Linked DNA regions of Homo sapiens: regions 1 and 2 are each linked to region 3. Evidence: promoter capture Hi-C in 16 types of primary human blood cells and fetal thymus (Javierre and others, 2016). All regions are on one chromosome and are shown on one strand. Each heading gives the region's core, a stretch centred on a gene start or on the middle of the fragment in contact. The rest is flanking DNA. Distances are from core to core; before and after follow the strand shown.

Region 1 (4,031 bases), core at 499-2,998, 1.5 Mb before region 3:
GATTACAAGCATGAGCCACCGCTCCTGGCCTGTATTTCTTTCTTTTATTAGATCTAAAGAAATACACAATTCCTCCTCCTCCCCCTCTTTCTTGCCTCTAGCCTCTCTCTCCTCCTTCCCCTTCTTCTCCGTCATTTCTCTCTCTTAGAGTGGTGGGTTTTAAGCTTGTTTTGAATCAGGTCTTCTTCGAGAATCTGATGAAGGCTGAGAACCCTCCCAGAAGAATGTGCGCATGCCTGCAGTGTGGCTTGTAACACTGGATCTATCACACACATACTCACTCTGAAGGCTTTTAGCGTCCCACCGGTTAAGAACCCTGGTCCACCTCCAATGAGGGTGCGGCTGAGGTGGCCCCTGCTCCCACTTCTGTGTGGGCCATGACATAGGTGTCCTTGGCCCAGTCCCCAGAGCTGGGGCTGTGTCATGACATGACCCCATTCCAGCTTCTTTTCCCCAAAACTAGAAGGGGCACCTGACCAGTGGCTCTGTTTCCTATCCACGGAAGCTGTTCACAGAAGCCCTGGTGATTGGCCAGGTGCGGTGGCTCACGCCTGTAATCCCAGGCCTTTGGGGGGTCGAGGCAAGTGGCTCACTTGAGACCAGAATGGCCAACATGGTGAAACCCCGTCTCTACTAAAAATACAAAAAATTAGACAGGCGTGGTGGTGGGCGCCTGTAATCCCAGCCACTCTGGAGGCTGAGGCAGGAGAATCACCTGAACCTGGAAGGCAGAGGTTGCAGTGAGCCGAGATCCTGCCATTGCATTCCAGCCTGGGCAATAAGAGTGAAACTCCGTCTCTCTCTCTCTCCTCTCTCTCTCTCTCTCTCTCTCTCTCTCACACACACACACACACACACACAAAGAAAGAAAGAAAAAAAGATAACAAAAAGAAGCCCTCGTGATCTCTGTAACCCTTTCTAACAAGTTCAACAAAACGCCTCAAGGCAAGGGGCTGGGCTACGGGGAAGCAGACTTGGCCCTGTGCTAGAGATGCGTGAAACACATCTGCACATCTGAGTGGCAGCACAGTTGAGGTTGTCCTGCAACTCAGCCTGTCTCACACTGAGCATGGCACTGGGCCTAGGGACTCTGCTGTCTGGCTGCTCCGTCCCCCAACCTCCCATCCCATTCCGTCACTGCCCAGCCTGACTGCCTTCTGCACGCCACAGCCAGGCTGCTCCCAGCCATTGCAATTGCTTCCTTCCCACCCCACCTCAGCACCTGGCCCTACCGGCCTCCTCACTGGCCAGCCTGCCTCATTGCCTTCTCCAATCCCTCCTGCTTTTTTCTTTTCTTTCCTTTTTTTTTTTTTTTTTTTTTTTGCGACAGGGTCTCACTCTGTCGCTCAGGCTAGAGTGCAGTGGCACCATTATGGCTCACTGCAGCCTTGATCTCCTGGTCTCAAGAGATCTTCCTGCCTCAGCCTCCTGAGTAGCTGGGACTACGAGTGCACTCCACTACGCCGTTAATTTTTGCTTTTTTGTTTTCTTGTTTTTGTTTTGAGACAGAGTCTCGCTCTGTCACCCAGGCTGGAGTGCAGTGGCACAATCTCGGCTCACTGCAACCTTCGCCTCCTGGGTTCAAGCAATTCTCCTGCTTCAGCCTCCTGAGTAGCTGGGATTATAGGCATGCACCACCACACCCAGCTAGTTTTTGTGTTTTTAGTAGAGATGAGGTTTCACCATGTTGGCCAGGCTGGTCTCAAACTCCTGACTTCAAGTGATCCACCCACCTCGACCTCCCAAAGTGCTGGGATTACAGGCATGAGCCACTGCACCCGGCCATTATTTTTTGTACAGACGGGATCTCGCTATGTTGCCCAGGCTGGTCTCACACTCCTGGCCTAGAGCGATCCTCCTGCCTCAGTCTCCCAAAGCACTGGGATTCCAGGCATGAACCACCATGCCTGACCACTCCCATTATTTCTAACATGCAGATCTGAACACCCATTCACTCATTCCACAAATACTTATTGAACAATTCCTATGTCCCCTGCAGAGTGGCTGGCTCTGAGGACACAGTACTGAATAAATGAGACAGAACTCCTTGCCATGCAGAACCTGCCTCCTGAGGCCACATCCACCAGCTCACAGGCCTTGGAAGGCCTTCTGAGTGACTCCACCTGGCACGTGCCATCCTTGGCTCCTCCCAGGGCGCCCTCCCACCTTATCTCCCATCGCTGCCCTTGATTCCAATACCCCGAGCCCAGCTGGCGCCCCTCATGCCCTCTCTGCCTCCACGGGTTCAGGTGAGCTCACAGGCCAAGGCCCAGCTCAGCCACCTCCTCCTCCATGCGGCCTTCCTGATGTGCAGCTGCCGTGACTACTCCTGTCTCTGGGGTTCTCTGGGAGCCTGTGTTTAGGGCCCAGTCTCTTCTTCCAGTGATTTATTTGCTAGCATGTTTATCTCTCCCCAAAGCTCTGAGCTTCTGGAGGCCAGGACATGTCTTCCTTGTCTCTGCATCGCCCACGTAGGCCACTTTGAAATGTTTGTTGAATGAGTCATCGAGTGAAGGAAGGAACCCGCAGAGGAACGGTTGCAGAAACTTTGGGGGAGGCCTGGGCACCAAAGGCGAGGCGTGGTGGCGGAAAGCCGACACTAGAGGGCGACAGAGAGTAAGGGAAAAAATGCAGCCAGGACCAACAGGCTTGGAGCAGAGAGATGCCTGGGCCAGGGCTCGTCCCAGCCTGGAAGCCCCAAGCCTTCGTCCTCCATGCCTGCCCTGGCTTCGTGGGGAAGGGGTGGGGAGCATACCAGCCCCCCCCCCGCCCCACCCCGTCTGAACTCAGTCAGCCGACTGAACTCTGCTCTATACCCTGGGGAAAGGGAAGAATAGGACCAGGACGGCCGGCAGGAAAACAGGAAACTCCAGTCCCAGAGCAGCGGGCAGAAGACCGTCCCCAGGATGTGGGCACTTCTCGCCAGAGGGTCCTGAGCCTGGGGCGCACTCTTCTGGTTTGGGGTAAACTTGGTCCTCTCGTGGTCTCTCTCTCTTCAGATAGGGCCCAGGGGAGCCCCCACTCCATACCACGTTTTTCCTTCCAACACATACAGCAGCCAGGAGGCCGGACAGAGCTTTCCGGTTTCCTGTTTTCACAACTGTATTTTCCCCTTTCTCCTTAATCAGTTTCCTACAGCCCCAGACAGGGTGACAGGCCACAGGGCACCTGCCCAGCTTGGCTGTCCCAGCCTGTCCCCCATCCCCTCACCACCCCCAACTTTTTTTTTTTTTTTTTTGAGACAGAGTCTCGTTGTGTCACCCGGGCTGGAGTGCAGTGAGTGGTGCAATCTCAGCTCACTACAACCCCCACCTCCCAGGTTCAAGCAATTCTCAAGCTTCAGCCTCCTAAGAGCTGGGACTTTGGGTTTGCACCACCATGCCCGGCTAATTTTTGTAGGTTTTTTTTTTTCTTTTGAGATGGAGTTTCACTCTTGTCGCCAGGCTGGAGTGCAATGGCACGATCTCGGCTCACTGCAACCTCCACCTCCCGGGTTAAAGTGACTCTCCTGCCTCAGTCTCCTGAGTAGCTGAGATTACAGGTGTGCACCACCACACCTGGCTAATTTTTGTATTTTTAGTAGAGATGGGATTTCACCATGTTGGCCAGGCTGGTCTCGAACCCCTGACCTCAGGTGATCTGCCCACCTCAGCCTCCCAAAGTGCTGGGATTACAGGCGTGAGCCACTGCGCCTGGCCTAATTTTTGTATTTTTAGTAGGAACAGGGTTTCACCATGTTGGCCAGGCTGGTCTCAAACTCCTGGCCTCAAGCAATCCACCTGCCTCAGCCTCCCAAAGCGCTGGGATTACAGGCATGAGCCACCTCGTGCGGCCTGCCTGCCTTTTTTTGAGACGTTCTAGAAGACCCCGGGCCTCCTGCCTTCCTCTCTCAGTTGAGGGAATACTCAGCAAACTGGCCCCATCACCAGGCACCTGCTGGCCTCCAGGCCCCCCTCCACTCACCCAAGGAGGCATCTTAGAGACCCAGATGCCTGGGGGTCTCCTACCTCCCCCTCCACCTACCCAAGGAG
Region 2 (3,840 bases), core at 924-3,423, 1.5 Mb before region 3:
GGCTTTGCAAACCAGCATCACTGCAGCATTTTGTGGCTCAAGGAATGGGGCAGGGCGGCCAGACCAGCTGTGGCTGGTGCGTGCGTGAGGCCCTGAGGGATGCGGCCAATGCTATTTTGCTGTTTTGTACTTACTCAGTTTCATTTTGGCTCTGTCGCCACTAGGCGAAAGAAATCGAAGTGCTAACATACCACGGGGAGCAATGATTATTACTCAATGTGGCCCCGCCCCAGCAGCGGGAGGTGGCATCTGTTTGACCTTGGAGACTTGGACGGTATTTAGGGAGATTACATGAAAAAAAGACTCACCCCACAATGCTTGCAGTCAGCTACAAGCTGCCTTGTCCTTCATACCTTTTAGCCTTTATTTCCTGAGTCTATCTTGTCTGTTTCTAATGTAGTCTCCTGATTTAGGGCAAGAGAATATTTCTCACTCTTGGTCTGCCCACTACCCACAATCCTTGTCCGAGGATTTACTCGGCAAACTTAGCAGGCAAAACCCCTTGTCAACTTAACACTAAAAAATACCGTCTCTTGGAAGGCAGTCTGCTTTGATAAACCTAATGGAATAAAAAGTGAGTTTGCTATCTGGCTTTAAAGAACATAACCCAGCTGGGCATGGTGGCTCACACCTGTAATCCCAACACTTTGGGAGACCGAGGCAGGAGGATCGCTTAAGCCCAGGCGTTCAAGACCAGCCTGGGCAACATAGTATAGTAAAACCCAGTCTCTACAAAAAGAATTTAAAAATTAGCCAGGCCAGATAGCCCAGCTACTTGGGACGCTGAAACAGGATTGCTTTGAGTCCAGCAGGTGGAGGCTGCAGTGAGCTATGACTGCACCACTGCACTCCAGCCTGGTCAACAGAGCGAGATCCTGTCTCAAAACAAAACAAAAAAACTGACAACCAATGAAACCTCATCTCTAAAATCTGGCTTCAGGTTAAGTGAGTAAAAAGAGGCTTTCTTGTGGCCAGGCACGGTGGCTTATGCCTGGTAATCCCAGCACTTTGGGAGGCCAAGGCGGGCGGATCACGAGGTCAGGAGTTCAAGACCAGCCTGGCCAACATAGTGAAACCCTGTTTCTACTAAAAATACAAAAAAATTAGCCAGGCATGGTGGTGGATGCCTGTAATCCCAGCTACTCGGGAGGCTGAGGCAGGAGAATCAACGTGAACCCAGGAGGCGGAGGTTGCAGTGAGCTGGTATCACGCCATTGCACTCCAACCCCGGGCAATAGTGCGAGACTCCGTCTCAAAAAAAAAAAAGGCTTTCATTTATCTTCTCAGCTCCTACAAGCCAATGAGTGGTAGGGTAATTTGCCGACCACAGTGGGAAGAACTAATTTAACACCAAGATTGTGATTCCCCTAGTGTAGATCCAGTATGAAAGAAGTGTCTCAGGCATGCTTCTGGTTCCTGAGTTAACTCTAGTGAATAAGGTGGGCTGTGCTGTCTCCCCACCTCCCCCAGGCATAGGGGCAGAACAGCTGCAGACCACCAGGACCCAGTGGGCCAAGTGAGGATGTGAGTCAAAGCCAGTGCTTATTAAACCACCTAATACTGTACTTTTCCCATCCAGGGGAGGCAGGAGAGGATTGAGGAGGCAAATCCCCGAGCCCAGAAGACTCCAGTCAGAAAACAAGATGGTCCCCATGGGTAGTGGCCAATCCCTCTGGCCTTTCAGAGCAGTGGCTTTGGCCTTGTCCGCTTAGGTAACAGGCTCTGCTGCTGGTAGTTGCTTAAGAGCACAGAGTAGCCGGGCGTGGTGGCTCACGCCTGTAATCCCAGCACTTTGGGAGGCCGAGGTGGGTGGATCACAAGGTCAGGAGATCGAGACCATCCTGGCTAACATGGTGCAATCCCGTCTCTACTAAAAATACAAAAAATTAGCCGAGCGTGGTGGTGGGTGCCTGTAGTCCCAGCTACTTGGGAGGCTGAGGCAGGAGAATGGTGTGAACCCAGGAGGCGGAGCTTGCCGAGAGCCAAGATCGCACCACTGCACTCCAGCCTGGGTGACACAGCGAGACTCCATCTCAAAAAAAAAACAAAAAAAAAAAAACACAGAGTGAACCAGTGAGAAGGTTAAATGGAGGAGAAAGCAAAGTTCTTAAGACAAAAAAAGTACCCCAACAAGGGCAGGAAACAAGCTAAATGACATAGGCACAGACAACTGGACAAACCCAGAACGTGGGGCCTTGAGACTGTCAAGTAGCCTGGTCTCAAGCCATTATCAGGCCCAGGCGTGGTGGCTCATGCCCATTAATTCTAACACTTTGGGAGGCCAAGGTGAGAGGATCACTTGAGGCCAGAAATTCAGGAACAGCCTAGACAACATACCCATCTTTACAAAAAATAAAAATAGATTTATTGGAAGGCCATGTTGAAAAAAAAAAAAGAAAAAAATTAGCCGGAAGTGGTAGTGCAGCCCTGTGGTCCCAGCTACTCGGGAGACTGAGTTGGGAGGACTGTTTGAGTCCATGAGTTGGAGGCTGCAGTGAGCTCTGATTGTCCAAAGCACTCCAACCAGGGCAACTGAGACCCTGTCTCTTAAAAAAAAAAAAAAATAGGCAAAGAAATCTAATATTGAAATGCAATTAATGAATTTTAATTGGAGTCTAGGTGGTGCGGGAGGGGGATTGGAAAAAGCTATCAAATGCATTCTGAGGACAATTTGGAGAAATTTGCATATGGGCTGATATTAGGGAATTATTAATTGGGTGATAACAGTATGGCGGTTATATTAGAGAATGTCCTTTTTTTTTTTTTTTTTTGAGACAGGGTCTCACGGTTGCCCAGGTTGGAGTGCAGTGGCGTGATGTCAGCTCACTGCAACCTCTGCCTCCTGGGTTTAAGCAATTCTTGTGTCTCAGCTTCCCAAGTAGCTGGGACTACAGGCACGAGCCACCACACCCAGTTAATTTTTTTGTATTTTTAGCAGAGACAGGGTTTCGCCATGTTGGCCAGGCTGGTCTCGAACTGCTGACCTCAGGTGATCCGCCCGCCTCGGCCTCCCAAAGTGGTGGGATTACAGGCGTGAGCCACTGCGCCTGGCCGAGAATGTCCTTTTTGTAAGGAGAAATATGAACATTGGGAGTAAAATGCCAACAGTGACTTTCAAGGTTCCACAACCCATAGAGGAATTTATCTGCCATATCAAGGAGTGGGTCTGTAGCCAATCACTGTAACGTTCTTTTCAATTTTTGTGTTTGGGATTCAAGTGCCCCAATACCACCTAACTACCCTTTAAATGGAATTAAATATTCTAATTCAAGATATCTGTTTTGGGACCACCAAATTTCAACTATCTATATTTAAAATCACAAGGCCAGAGTCACATCAGTGCTCAAAGGCAGCAAAAATCCTATTTCAAGCTCAACCAAATTAGAAGAATGGATGGCAGTAGTTACCTCTAAGAATGGCAATTAATGGGTGATCAGGTAATGGGCATGCTGGGAAGAGTTTCTGATAAACCAGGGGTCTGCAAACTACTGGCCAGAGGGTAAATATGTCAAGCATTGTGGGCTGTATACGGCCGCCTCACACTTTTGTAACGTGTGTGCACTGCCAATTCAAAAAATAAAAACCAGCTGGGCACAGTGGCTCATGTCTGTAATCCCAGCACTTTGGGAGGCTGAGATGGGAGGATTGCCTGAGGCCAGGAGTTCAAGACCAGCCTGGGCAGTATAGCAAGACCTCAATTCTACAAACAATCCAAAAATTAGCCAGGTGTGTGTGGTGGTGGTACGCACCTATGGTCCCGGCGACTCAGAAGGCTGAGATAGGAGGATCATTTGAGCCCAGGAGGTAGAAGCTGCAGTGAGTTGTGATCATGCCACTGCA
Region 3 (3,487 bases), core at 844-3,343:
TGGGATAGCATTTATTATATTTAATCTTCACATATAGGTTTATGATATGTTCCTCTACTTAAGTTTTTTATACCAACCTTTATGGCCACTTGGAAAAAGGATAAGTAGAATGGGAAATCAGAAGCCAGACTGCATGCAGCTGGGTAAGGAGTTAACAGAAGACCAAGAAATGGAAACAATTGAGAACATTTTATTCCTTTGAGGCATTTGGAGAAGAGAAAAATGAAAGATAGGGTATATGAAACTGAAAGAAGAAATTTTCAGGAAAGGAAGAATTTATGACTATAAACAGAAATAAGCCAATGGGGAATGACACTGAAGATGAGAGAGGATACTTGATGGAAAGAGAAAAAGATCAGAAGGTGCTAGGGATAGGAACAAAAGCATGCGTGGTAGGAGGAAAGATGCAGGAAGATAACAGGGAAAAGGTGAAGGAACTGGCTAATTGAGCCAAATACCCTAGATTAGCGTGCTCAATTATATTTTAGAACTAACTTTGATGTACTGTGCAACATCTCTACTACTTTAAATAGTGGGTGGCTATCACAGTGCAAGAGGACACATCTGTTCTATTTCAACAGTTAAGTATTAGTCTCCTAACTCACCTCTTTTCCCTTATACCCATCTAGTGGCACTTAAACTTGTTTACTTAATTGGCAAAGGCTTCATACTGCAGTAATTTTGCTTCTAAGGAGGCATTTTTCTGTGTTGGTTTCCTTTCCCGGCCAGAGGCTGCCATAGAGTGGGATGTGGGACTGAATTTGGAAGCAGGGTTGGAGGGGTGTGTGTTGATTAATAACCATGGATGGATTTCATCCCGTAAATTGCACAATCCCCACCTCCAATCTATCAGGCCGTTTTTGTGAACCTCTGAAAAACGGTTTATGATTATACACTTGCTTAAACCTAACTGTTCCATCTGCTATCGGATAAGACAAGCTTCATTTTTTTCTTACATTTGGCTGTACTTACCACAGGTGCTTTAGGGCTGGAGGTGAAAGGATGCAAGTAACAATCTTATTGTGCCTACAAGATTTATAATGTGGGATGCAACAAAATTCTGTTATGTTCTTGCACGGAAATACCCTCAATGGGGAAGCACTGCTGATACTTAAATGACGATTGAAGGATTGTACGCCTGTATGCTGAGCTACAACGATGACATACGATCCCAGTTTTACATTTACGTCTTCATCAATTTGAGCAGTCGTTATGTTTCCTACTATTCTCTCCACAAGAAAGGGGGAGGTGCGTACTCCAAAAATGTGCTCAACTAAAATGTTTCCCATTTAAGGTGGTTATTTCTGGCACTAGGAAGACAGTTAAATATTTGTTAATGATTCCTTACTCATTTTTAAAACCTTCGGAGTTACCCCTGTATGGACATATATAGAGCCCCACCCACATAGCCCACGGCTGGGTATCAGCCCCCATTTCCCTTCTCTCGCCACTGCCAGTAGTCTACCAAGTGAACCTGCCTCATCCCAAAGATAATTTTGCTTCATGAGCCCACATATTTATTCTTCTTCATAATGAGTCGCTTTTGAAAAGCCCGTGCAGCAACAGCCTTGGCCAAAGGAACAGCGTTCTGCTTACAACTTAGCTCATCTGGGGGCCTATTTGCCCCTGGAACTTCAGGACGCTCCTAAACTATACTTGCCCTTCTGCAAACACCGACAGTCGGCTCGCGGCGCCCCACCGGGACGCTCCCCTTTCATGGGCTGTAAGCCCAGCACATGCTGGAGTTTAACACGGTTCCTGCTGGATGCGCACAGAAGCCCTGGAGCCAAGCAGGCGTGTGCGCGTTTGGGGCTGGCTGTGTGATGGGTTGAGGGTCGGCCGCACAGCCCACGGAAGCATCAGGAGACCAGCGCCGGCGTACGGTGCGGGCTAGGGCAGAGCCCCAGACTCACCTGGCAGCGCTGCCGGCCGGAAAGCGGAGAGGGACGCGAAGATCAGCAAATTCGCCAGTTTGGATCCTTGTCCTTTTCCGCCCTTTTCCCCCCATTAAATCCAGAACCCGTCACATGATAATTAAGAAAAAACTTCAGTTCCGCCTCCTCAAACGACTGCGGTAGAGGATCTCTCAGTTCTACCTCAGTGCCGCGCCCACATCCGGGGCTGGTTCTCACCGCCCCTGAGCCTACCCTATAGGTAGAGAGGACGCCAATCTGGATTCAGAGGTCCCTTTTCCGCGGTAATTGGACCATTTGTCCGCCAGTGCAAACCAACCGACCTTTCCTTACTTTCGGGTTCGACAGAAAGGCGGCAATAAAAAGACCCATTGGTCCCGCCTCTCTACTGTCACGGGTTAGTAGGGAAGTCAGTCCAAGATCAGCCTGGAGTTTCCGTGCTCCCATTGGGCCCACAGATGTTAATCAGAGCAGCCGGCGCTCAGCTCCGCCCTCTCGGGACGCCCCGCCCCTCCTCCCATCCTCCCTGCCCGCGCGCAGTGACTGCAGGCTCCGGCGCAAAATCCTGCGGGAGAGGGGGTGGGGCAACCCTCTGGAGGCAGCGCGCCCGCGGGCAGCCTCGTTGTGGCTCCTTGGGCTCTGTTGGCGGCGGCGCTAGCTTCGGAGTCTCCCGCGCGCACCTCAGCCGCCTCCTAGCGGCGCGGCGCTCGCTCCTACGGTAAGAGCGGCATCACCTCCGCGCTCGGGTGGGCAGTGTGGAGGTCGTCGAGTTCTGACAGAATTTCGAGGATGGATCGGGACGAGGGAGGAGAGCGGTCGTCGGGATGGAGGTGGGGGCTCCGGGGCCAACGCGTCGCCCTCCGTCGCCGGCGACTTTCCCGGCAGTCTCCCGTACCTGAGGGCCGGGGTCAGCCGCGACCCCTTCTCATCAGTCGGCCGGTGGCGGAGGCTCAGCCGCCTTCCTCCCGAGCTCGCGCGGTCCTCAAGTCTTGATGGTGACGGGCCGAAGCCCAGCGCGCCACCCGCCCCTCGGGCCCCGCTTCCAGGCCCCTGTCCTTTGCTTCCTTCCCTTGGCGCTGTGCTGAGGGGTCGTCGGGTCCTGGAAGGGCGTTCAGGGGTCTCGGGTGGCTAGCCCGGCTGGCGGGGAGATGTCAGCTAGCGGCCGGAGGAGCGGGCTCGGGAGGGGGCGGCGGCTCGCGCGCTGGAGGAGGTGGAAGGAGGGTCGCTGCCCTGCCCCCTCTGAGCAGGCGGCAGTCGAGTTTTCTGATCCCAACACGGCGGAGTGGGTGCTTAAGGCATGGGCCTTAAGGGATAGTTCCCGTCTGGAAACAATACCGTGCTCCATCAGCATGCTTCAGCTTTTCTTATTTTTATCTGCCCAGTGTTGACAGCCAGCATTCTGGTATTGTCCTTCGAGTCATGGCTTTCTAACTCAGCACCTCCTTGTGTAACTTCAGGGATCATTCTGTCACTAATCTGTCACCCTTCTTATTTTTAGCGTGGCGAAAACAAGGAACTGCCTTATACTAACCTGGGCAGTGCAGAATCTGGAACAATTTATTAATCTCAGTGTG

The links. Contacts are between HindIII fragments. The CHiCAGO score rates a contact against its expected background, and 5 or more counts as called.
Region 1: a contact is called between a fragment that was not itself captured here and the fragment with the promoter of TMEM60 in region 3, in 1 of 17 cell types (neutrophils). The highest score is 5.1, in neutrophils.
Region 2: a contact is called between a fragment that was not itself captured here and the fragment with the promoter of TMEM60 in region 3, in 1 of 17 cell types (neutrophils). The highest score is 5.1, in neutrophils.

The regions. Positions count from the first base shown.
Region 1 is chr7:76,289,202-76,293,232 of GRCh38, forward strand. No RefSeq gene overlaps it. Among named protein-coding and RNA genes, the nearest start is that of HSPB1, 11 kb to the right of the region's middle. RefSeq lists enhancers at 1,039-1,554, 2,211-2,520, 2,587-3,102 and a cis regulatory region at 2,195-2,963. The HindIII fragment of the contact is 3,173 bases long and covers 163-3,335 here.
Region 2 is chr7:76,318,688-76,322,527 of GRCh38, forward strand. FPASL (fibroblast proliferation associated lncRNA) reads left to right here. Exons shown (of 2, transcript NR_186616.1): 1 at 1-1,760; 2 at 3,032-3,599. Among named protein-coding and RNA genes, the nearest start is that of FPASL, 2.4 kb to the left of the region's middle. RefSeq lists an enhancer at 1-423. The HindIII fragment of the contact is 7,938 bases long and covers 1-3,840 here.
Region 3 is chr7:77,796,341-77,799,827 of GRCh38, forward strand. It overlaps TMEM60 (transmembrane protein 60), which reads right to left and starts at 2,094. Exons shown (of 2, transcript NM_032936.4): 1 at 1,914-2,094. It overlaps PHTF2 (putative homeodomain transcription factor 2), which reads left to right and starts at 2,433. Exons shown (of 19, transcript NM_001395272.1): 1 at 2,433-2,631. RefSeq lists an enhancer at 1,854-1,963 and a silencer at 2,374-2,513. The HindIII fragment of the contact is 8,213 bases long and covers 938-3,487 here.